2 separate regions of the Homo sapiens genome follow, and region 1 is linked to region 2. Evidence: promoter capture Hi-C in human tissues and cell types (Jung and others, 2019). All regions are on one chromosome and are shown on one strand. The core of a region is centred on a gene start or on the middle of the fragment in contact, and the rest is flanking DNA. Distances in the headings are between cores, read along the strand shown.

What was found. Contacts are between HindIII fragments. The study calls those that stand out against the background at their distance.
Region 1: a fragment that was not itself captured here is called in contact with the fragment with the promoter of PRR19 in region 2 in 1 of the 25 tissues and cell types used here (pancreas).

What each region holds. Positions count from the first base shown.
Region 1 is chr19:42,444,703-42,449,633 of GRCh38, forward strand. All of the region lies in intron 1 of LIPE-AS1 (LIPE antisense RNA 1), which reads left to right. Among named protein-coding and RNA genes, the nearest start is that of CXCL17, 4.2 kb to the left of the region's middle. The HindIII fragment of the contact is 4,999 bases long and covers 259-4,931 here.
Region 2 is chr19:42,300,882-42,306,191 of GRCh38, forward strand. PRR19 (proline rich 19) reads left to right here and starts at 1,251. Exons shown (of 3, transcript NM_199285.3): 1 at 1,251-1,622. PAFAH1B3 (platelet activating factor acetylhydrolase 1b catalytic subunit 3) reads right to left here and starts at 1,743. Exons shown (of 5, transcript NM_002573.4): 1 at 1,351-1,743; 2 at 1,069-1,158. The coding sequence starts at 1,428. RefSeq lists enhancers at 1,218-1,267, 1,348-1,477, 1,430-2,084 and a silencer at 1,638-1,857. The HindIII fragment of the contact is 37,239 bases long and covers 1-5,310 here.

The sequences.
Region 1 (4,931 bases), core at 1,508-4,007, 150 kb after region 2:
CCGGGAGCTCCTCCTCAGACCTACCTCCCGTGCCTCAGTCTCTTTACCCCTCTGTTCTTCCAGGTCCTGCTCCCTCTGGTTTCCCCTCCATGCACTTGGGGTGGGTGTTGCATCCTGTGTCCCATTGGAGGGGGCTTCCGGTCTGTTAGGTCTATTAATATAAAACACCCCCAAGACAAATGGACTTTTTTCTTGTTAACATCACAACTTCTTATGATGCATCTCAAGAACATTATTTGTGTCAAGAGTCTCTCTGATGTACAGAGGCCCTCCATTCCTCAGGAGGAGGTAAGGGGAATTTGGGAGAAAACACCGCCCTGCCTGGGTTACTTATTTCCCTATTCTACAGTGTACTTGGTAGACATTCAAAAATATTTGTTGACTTTGTCCATGATCCACATGGCTCTCATATAGTCATTTATTCACACATACATTCAGTGAGACTTTGAGCGCCTAGTGTGTGCCTGGTATTTACTAGATGGTGGATGCTGAGATCAGGTGTGCTGCTGTCTCTGAGGAGCTCTCACTATACAGTGGCACCTAGGGTGACCGAATCCACCTGCCCCACTTTACAGACATGGAAATTAAAGTGCAGGGAAGTTATAGGATTAGTTCAACAACACAGTCAGTAGCCTCAAAGTTACAGGAGTAAATCAAGTTTTCTGACTTGCTGGATTTTCTATTAGTGTGCAGCTACCTGGCTGCTGCAGGTGTAGACGTGGTGAGCTCCGATAGGAGAGAGGACGTTCAGAGTGAAATGGGAGCCCTGAGCACCCTGGATTAACCGGGAGGACATACCGGGTCCAGCTGTGACCGCACAAAGGACCATCAGGGATATTTGTATTCTCTTTTTCACTTTGAGCTTGAAATGAAGAAAACTGACCCCAGGAAACCAAGAGTGGAAGATTTTTCACAGGGGATTAGTGAGATGCGTCAAAAAGCCTGTGTTGGATGGGTGCCTGTAATCCCAGCACTTTGGGAAGCTGAGGTGGGAGGATGGCTTGGGTCCAGGAGTTTGAGACCAGTGTGGGCAACATGGTGAGACCCTGTCTCTATAAAAAGCTTTTTTGTTTCTTGTTTTAAAAAGAAAACCCTTTTCTGATGTCTGTCACGGTGTTTCTCACTGAATGGTAATGGTCTGACTTTGAGTGGGTTTCATCCATAGCCTGGAGCTCTGTGAGGCAGGGACCAGGTGTGATTCACCTTTGTCTCTCCAGTGACAGTACACAGCAGGATCCGATAAATATTTCTTACAAAATAAAACTGAATAAAAAGTAGACATCTGCACAGGTGTGGGATGACTAAGCAGCAGCAGGAGCAGGAAAAATCAGTCCCCCCAGATCAGCTGATACAGCGTTCAGCTTCTAGATAGGGGTGAGGTGCCAGGACGGGGATGGGGTTCCTGTGGCTCTGCTGCTCTGGGGAACACCCCTAGGATTCAGAGTGTAGGCTGTGGTTGCTGCACTTCACTTGCCCGTGGGAAAGTGAGCAGTGGGTGTGGGGCTTCAGGTGACCCTACGTGGGAAACGGCCGAGGGAAGATGGGGTAGGTGGCACATAGAGGTTGTTTTTTTATTTTTTTATTTTTATTTTTGAGACGAAGTTTTGTTCTTATTGCCCAGGCTGGAGTGCAATGGTACAATCTTGGCTCACCGCAACCTCTGCTTCCCAGGTTCAAGCAATTCTCCTTGCCTCAGCCTCCCAAGTAGCTATGATTACAGGCATGCGCCACCATGCCTGGCTATTTTTTTTTGTATTTTTAGTAGAGACAGGATTTCTCCATGTTGGTCAGGCTGATCTCGATCTCCTGACCTCAGGTGATCCACCCACCTTGGCCTCCCAAAGTGCTGGGATTACAGGCATGAGCCACTGTGCCCGGCCAAGGATGTTTACCAATATTTGAAGGTCGGTTGTATAAAAAAGTGTTAGACTTGGCTGGGTGCATTGGCTCATGCCTGTAATCTCAACACTTTGGGAGGCTGAGGCAGGCAGATCACCTGAGGTCGGGAGTTTGAGACCAACCTGGCCAACATGGCAAAACCCTGTCTCTACTAAAAATACAAAAATTAGCCGGGCGCAGTGGCGGGCACCTGTAATCGCAGCTATTCAGGAGGCTGAGGCAGGAAAATTGCTTGAACCCAGGAGGGGGAGGTTGCAGTGAGCCAAGATTGTGCCACTGCACTCCATCCTGGGTGACAGAGCCAGACTCCATCTCAAAAAAAAAAAAAAAAAAAAGGAAAAGAAAAAATGTTAGTGTCACATGCATCCATGTGAAGAGACCACCAAACAGGCTTTGTGTGAGCAATAAAGCTTTTAATCACCTGGTGCAGGCAGGCTGAGTCCAAAAAGAGAGTCAGTGAAGGGAGTTAGGGATGGGGCAGTTTTATAGGACTAGGGTAAGCAGTGGAAAGTTACAGTTAAAGGGGGTTTTTCTCTTGCGGGCATGGTGGGGAGATCATAAGACTCATTGTCCAGAAGAAGAATGTCACGAGGTTGATCAGTAGATCAATTGGGACAGGGCAGGATCAAGTCATGACAGAATGTCATAAGGTTGGTCAATCGGTTAAGATAGGAGTTGGCTGTTTCCCTTCTTTTGTACTTGTCGGTTGCCTCAGGCCATCTGGATGTATACATGCAGGCTTGGGTTCAGAGGCCTGACATTCCTGTCTTCTTATATTAATAAGAAAAATAAAACAAAATAGTGTTGAAGTGTTGGGGTGGCGAAAAAATTGTTTTTGGGGTGGTATGGAGAGATAATGGGCCATGTTTCTCAGGGCTGCTTCGAGCAGGATTAAGGGCTGTGTGGACCTTAAAGAAAATTTTATAATAGGTTACATGGAATAGGAGTTTAGGCTGTGGGGAGATCTTGGGGCAGAGGATGGTACTATGGGGTTGTTAAAAGTAGCATTTGTCATATAGAATGATTAGTGATGGTCTGAATGTGGTTTTGTGTGAATTGAGAAACCAAACGGAAGACACAAGGCCCGAATAAGAGGAGAAAAAGAGGTACCAGAGGACTAAGAATTGGGAGGACCCAGGATGTCCAATTAGAGAGTGCCCAAGGGGGTTCAGCATAATTACTTGCTTGTTGGCGAGTTTTTGGGCTATATCCTTGAGTTTTTTTTTATATTGTCATATACTAGGCCAGATTGATTTAGGTAAAAGCAACACTCTTCATTTAAAAATATAGAGAGTCCTCCTTTTTCAGCAGTGAGTAAGTCAAGGCCTCGGCGGTTTTAGAGGACAACTGCAGCTAAAGAGTCAACCTTGGCCTGAAGGACTCATAGAGTTTGTGATATGTCTGTGATGCTAGCAGAGAAGTCATTAGAGAGGCTCTGGAAGGTCGTGACAGAGGCTGAAATGCCTGCTATTCCAGTTCTGAGCGCAATAGCGGAGGCAGAAAGTCCTAAACCGACAAGTAAGGGAATTAGTGGAATAACCTTTTTTTTTGTCATGTCGGTGTCATGAGAGGAACAGGAAGCTTTTCAGTCCCATTCGCAAATTGAATTTTGGGAGTAAGGTAAACTAGTGTGCATGTGCCTGTCCAATTAGCAGGTAGACACATGTAGGCAGAGGATCCACAGAGGAAGAAGAGACCTTGTGCAAGGCAAAACTGGAAATGCAAAGTAAAAAGATGAGAAGGAATACTAAAAGAGGTGTCTTGCACTCAGACTCCTAGGGATCCAGCTAGGGCGGCAGCCATCAGAGGTTGTAATGGGGACTGATGGGGTAACTGCATAGAGGGGGAGGTTCGATTTTCATGGTGTATGAGAAAACGTTGAGTGTCTACGAGCAACCTTTCACTGTTATTTACAGGGCTGGGTATAAGCAAACAAAAAGAGGGCCTGGGAGGAGAGTCTGACGAGCAAGGGGAAGGTAGTCAAGGATGGAGTGAAATACAGGGTAAGTGTCTTCCTAGGAAATAATAACTGCTAATGTTTTTAAGTTTGCCAGTATTGATAGAGGGCTTTTCTGTAATATGGAGCTGGGAGGCCCCAATTGTTTCAGTGATATGTGTAGTTGGGCTTTGGAGATGAAGAGTGAAGGAACACGGAGAAGGTGAAAGGTTACCTAGGGGAATTCCAGTGGGTCTTTGCCAAGAGATACATAAAGGAGTGGCCACAGGAATAGTAGTTTGTGTTGTGAGGGGTCCAAATATGGGGGGAGTAGAATTAATATAAGGAGAAAGATTTTTTAAGTAAGTGCGGAGAAGGGCGGCAGCTTGCTGATGTGAAATGTCTGGGGAGGTCTTGCTGGACCTGTCTAGAAAGTAAAGAATTTCTTTAGGAGGGTTAAGGTGAGGGCTGTTAAAGGAAGTTCGGAGGTGTAGGGAGACAGGAGATGTTGCTTAGTCTGTATGTAAGGCGGGGACAGCTGTGTAGGCACAGGAAGAAAGGGAAATGCAAAGCCAGCAATTGTTCTCTAAGGAGGGATCAGAGACGGCTAGGAGAGAGTGAATGAGACTGATAGTGTGGTGGAGATAGCTGGGGAGAGGTAGAGGGTGGCATAAGAATGGGAATGAGAATAAGAGTGAGTATAAAAGTAAAGAATAGAACTTCATCAGGGTGGAAGTATTGGAGGGTGCCCTGCCAGCAAAGATCATCTATCCACTCTAAGAGGGAGTTAAGAGTGGCAGTTTGGGGATAGCACCAGGAGATATCCACTGTGATGGTTTGGAGGAACAGTGTAAACTGGCAGTGTAAACAAGAGCAGGGCATTTATGAGTAGTTGAGAACGGTGAATAAGAGTATGACTAGACAGAAGATAGTAGGGATGACAAGTTTTTTGGGGTGCAGTCCAAGTAGTGGGGGTGACTGCATAAAGCCCTGTTGCAAAAAGTAGGGTAAGGATGAACAGACCTAGTAGAATGAAGGGACGTATTAGGCTCATGAGGGTTATTACTGTTCTTCAGAAATACAAGTGAGTTTAAGG
Region 2 (5,310 bases), core at 1-2,500:
TCGGCTCATTGCAATCTCTGCTTCCCAGGTTCTGGCGATTCTCCTGCCTCAGCCTGCCAAGTAGCTGGGACTATAGGCATGTGCCACCATGCCCAGCTAATTTTTGTATTTTTAGTAGAGACAGGATTTCGCCATGTTGGCCAGGGTGGTCTCGAACTCCTGGCCTCAGGTCATCCGCCTGCCTTGGCCTCCCAAAGTGCTGGGATTACAGGCGTAAGCCACCACACCCTGCCTAGAGTCTCTCACTTTAAACCAAGCCCCAGGCTCTGTTGCTCATGCTGAGGTGGGCGGACTGCTTGAGCCCAGGAGTTCAAGACCAACCTGCGCAACAGGGCAAAACCCCATCTCTACAAAAATTACAAAAATTAGCCAGGTGCATGGTGATGTGCACCTGTAGTCCCAGCTACTCGGAGACTAAGGTGGGAGGATCACTTGAGCCCAGGAGGCAGAGGTTGCAGTGAACAGAGATCATACCACTGCACGCCAGCCTGGGTGACAGAGCAAGACCCTGTCTCAAAAACCAACCAACCAACCAACCAACCAACAAAACAAACCAAGCCCCATAGAAGCAAGACTCACTTCATGAAAATCCAGTCTGCTTGAGCCATGCATTGAATCAATGGCATTACAGTTGAAACTTATTTTGATGAAACCCATTACAGTTGGACATGCTTTGTGGAAAGATATTATTATGATTGAGTCCTCTTTGTGGAGTGCCATTAGAGTTGCCCTTCGCTTCCTGTAAAGTGACTATAGCTTTGTGTAAACCCAACAGGGCTGCGCACTACTTAAAGCAAACAAGAAAGAGCCTCACTTTAGGCAAGCCTATGGCAGGAAAGCCTCATTTTAGGTCTTAGTACATTATACACAAATCCAATCTGATAAAACCAAGGCATACATTTCTTTCTCAATAGAATGTTGCACCTTACACCAAGATTCTCAGAGCCTCGGGCTGCCTGAGGCCAATCTGGGTACTCTCATAATACCTCACCTGGCCTGGGTTCTGGTCCAGATGTGTCAGCATGGACACAGGGCTGGATGGGGCAGGGGGAGAGGGACTGCCCTCACCTCGCACTGGTGCATGAGCTGGACCAAGGAGTCCCCGATGAAGACGACTTCGGGTTCCTTATCTTTGCTGTCAGCCACGAACCGATGGTGCTGCGGGAGCGCGCGAGAGGGAGTCAATGGCATGCACGCTCCAGGGCCCGCCCCGCCCTGCTCCCTTAGGCAGCGCCTCCTCAACTGCCCTCAGTTTCCCAATCAGGTAGTGAGAGTGGCACGAACCAGCCGTTCTCCTGAGCCACCCCCCGCGCCCCCGGACTCCTCAATATCCCAGGTGGGAACGCTCACCAGGGACATCCAGCGCCCGTCGCCCTGTACGTCCTGCACCGGCGTGGGCTTGCTGGCTGGGTTCTCCTCTCCACTCATCTTGGCGCCGCAGCTCCTGCAGGATGAGCGAGTCGGGTCGGCCCGGGAGTGTTCCGAACGGAGCTGGCTCCGCCACGCCCACTCCTACCCCTCGCGGCAACAAAGGACCGTCCCAACGCTAGCACACCCGCGGAGGACGAAGGCCGATACAGGGCGCCGCCTCCTCTCCAGGGACGGAAGCCTTCACTTAGGAGGTAGGTGGAATCAGGAACCTTCGCTTCCCCCACGACGGCCGCACAGTGGGCTCGCCCGGCGCTTCCCGCTCGGGCCGCTGACTCCCAGGCCGCGCACCCGGCACGGGGTGGGGGGAGGGAGAGGCGAGACCATCCAGCTCCCGAGGCGGGGAGGAGGGAGAAACCACCCACCGGTCACGGGGAGGGGCGAACTACCTGAAGAGTCGAGAGTGGGCGGGGAAAATCTAGCCCTCTGTCTAGCAAATGGGAAGAAACCATTTGCTGTACAGAGTGAAATGTGCGGAAGGGACCACCTACTGTTGCGGGGGGGGGGGTGACCCATTCACGTGGTGGGGGGAGGGGAGCGAGTGGACGAGTCCATTCTTATATTCCCTTGAAGGGGTGGCTCGAATGCACCTGGCTGGGGGGGACGCTCCTATTTTCTACTGATGTGGGGGACAGAAAAGGAAGATGACAAAATGTGAAAATTCGAGGCTCCCTTCTAAGGAGCCACTCTAAGGCCGCGCCAGGGCTTTAGTGAGCCTATCTACTCGTGGGCTTCCCCTACTCAAAACACCGTGGGTGTGTGTGTGTGTGTGTGTGTGTGTGTGTGTGTGTGTGTGTTGAAATCTAAAGTACATATCTTTGCATTCAAGACATCACAGGACCCCTACTCAAAACACCGTGTGTGTGTGCGCGCGCGTGGCATAACATATAAACTACATATCTTTGCATTCAAGACACCATAGGACCTGCTTGGAGGGTAGAAGAAGGTGCAGAAAGAGAAAGGAAATTAGAGACGCCTCCAGGGCTCAGGTCCAGTCTGGCGTCCCTCCGGCAGATCATCTTGCAGATCTGCAGCCTCTACACTCTCTCTAAACCCACAGGCCAACTGGGTATGTCTGAGCTCTGAAACCTACATCCATAGCCAAGGCCACCTAGGGTCGCGCCTCTCCCCCAACGCTGCCCCAAATTAATCTCAGACCTCAGTGTCTTCTCAGATCTCCCTCTTCTCTGGGACCAGGTGGGGGGCTCACTCCCTGCTAAACGTCCTGGTCATGTTCTTGTAGCCTCACTCCAGGTGGGACCTTCCCATGTATTCATTCCTTCGAGGTGGATTGATACTGAGACAGAGATGAGTGTTATTCATTGTGTTTATGTTTTCAATCCACTTTCCTGGAACTGGGCCGGGCACACAGTGGTTATTCCACAAGTGCTTGCTGAATGAGTAGTAAATGAGTGGGTCAGCTCCTGACCTTGTCCCAATGTGTTTAGGGAGACAGATCCAGACACAGAGGTGTAGGGGTGTCAAAGTTGTGTTTGAGGGAGAGACAGGGACCTCTGGGGAGGAAGAGGAGAAGGACTCTGAGGACTATGGGTTTCCTAGGAGTAGTATCTCAGCTGGGTCTGAAAGATAATGAAGAATGGGCAAGCAGAAAGAAAAGACACAGGTAATCACTTTCTTATTAGGTTTGGGGAATATCGTGGAATAGCTTGATTTTAAAGTCTGAGGGAGGCCAGCATGGAGGCTCATGCCTGTAATCCCAGCACTTTGGGAGGCTGACATGGTCGGATCACTTGAGGTCAACCAGCCTGGCCAACATGGCGAAACCACGTGTCTACTAAATATACAAAAAAAAAAAAAAAATTAGCTAGGCATGGCAGCACACGCCCGTAGTCCCAGCTACTTGGGAAGGCTGAGGCAGGACAATTGCTTGAGTCTGGGAGGCAGAGGTTGCAGTGAGCTGAGATCGCGCCACTGCAGCCCAGCCTGGGCAACAGTGGCCCAGCTTGGGTGACACAGCGAGACTCTGTCTTAATTACAAAAATAAACAAACAAATAAAGTCTGAGGGAGCCAGGTGCAGTGATGCATGCCTGTAGTCCCAGCTACTGGGGAGGCTGAGGTGCGAGGATCGCTTGAACCCAGAAGTTTGAGACCAGCCTGGGTAACACAGTGAGACCCTGTCTAAAAAAAAAAAAAAAAAAAGGCTGGGCGCGGTGGCTCACGCCTGTAATCCCAGCACTTTGGGAGGCCGAGGTGGGCAGATCACGAGGTCAGGATCGAGACCATCCTGGCTAACACGGTGAAACCCCGTCTCTACTAAAAATACAAAAAATTAGCGGGGCGTGGTGGCAGGCGCCTGTTGTCCCAGCTACTTGGGAGGCTGAGGCAGGAGAATAGCGTGAACCTGGGAGGCAGAGCTTGCAGTGAGCCGAGATGGCACCAGTGCACTTCAGCCTGGGAGACAGAGCGAGACGCCGTCTCAAAAAAAAAAAAAAAAAAAAAAAGGGCAAGTGCCTGTAGTCCCAGTTAGTTGGGAGGCTGAGGCAGGAGGATAGCTTGAGCCTGGGAGATGAGGTGGCAGTGGCCCATGATGGTGTCACTGCACTCCAGGTTGGGTGACAGAGTGAGTCCCTGTCTCCAAAAAAGAAGTCATAATCAGCTAGGCACGGTGGCTCACTCCTATAATCCCAGCACTTTGGGAGGCTGAGGTGGGCAGATCACTTGGCGTCAGGAGTTCAAGACCAGTCTGACCAACATAGCAAAACCCCATCTCTATTAAAAAATACAAAGATTAGCTGGGCAAGGTGGTCTGCGCCTGTAGTCCCAGCTACCTGGGAGGCTGAGGCAGGAGAATCGCTTGAACCCGGGAGGTGGAGGTTGCAGTGAGTTCAGACTGTGCCACTGCACTCCAGCCTCAGTGACAGATTTAAATTCCATCTCAAAAAGAAAAGGAAAGAAAAGAAAAGAAAAGAAAAAAGTCTTAATTATGCCTTCAAGTCAGTGATATAAGAGAGAATTTTTTTTTTTTTTGATAGAGTCTCGCTCTGTCGCCTAGGCTGGACTGCAATGGCGCGATCTCGGCTCACTGCAACCTCTGCCTCCCAGGTTCAAGCGATTCTCCTGCCTCAGCCTCCTGAGTAGCTGGGACTACAGGCGTGTGCCACCACGCCCGGCTAATTTTTTGTATTTTTAATAGAGAAGAGGTTTCACTGTGTTAGCCAGGATGGTCTCGATCTCCTGACCTCGTGATCTACCTGCCTTGGCCTCCCAAAGTGCTGGGATTACAGGCGTGAGCCACCATACCCAACCGAGAAAAAAATTTTTAAAAATAAAGTCTTAGAGGATAAGTTGGAGCAGTTCCTGAAGCAAAGCTTAGTGAGAAACAAAGCTTCCAGGCATTCTTCATTCACCAGGCCCATTTCAAGTTAGACATATTGGTCTAGTTTATCCTTCTAGCAACCAAATGAGGAAGGTAGTTTTATTACCAACCCAATTTTACAGGTCAGAAAACTAAGTCTGACCAGTTACAAACATTTCCAAGGTCACACAGCCCAGTTGTGCCATTTTGGGCATTTAAACCAAGCCTAGCTATGAATCACAACACTACACTAACTTTTTTTTGAGATGGAGTCTTTCTCTGTCACCCAGGCTGGAATGCAGTGGTGTGATCTCGGCTCACTGCATCCTCCACTTCCCAGGTTCAAGCAATTCTCCTGCCCCAGCCTGCTGAGTCGCTGAATATACAGTCGTGAGCCAATGCATGTGGCCTAATTTTTGTTCTTTTACAGGGTCTTGCCGTCTCCCTCAGGCGGGCGTGATCATGGCTCACTGCTGCCTCCACCTCCTAGGCTTAAGTGATCCTCCTGCATCAGCCTCCCAAGTAGCTGGGCCCACAGGCAAGAGCCACTGCGCCCAGCTTATTT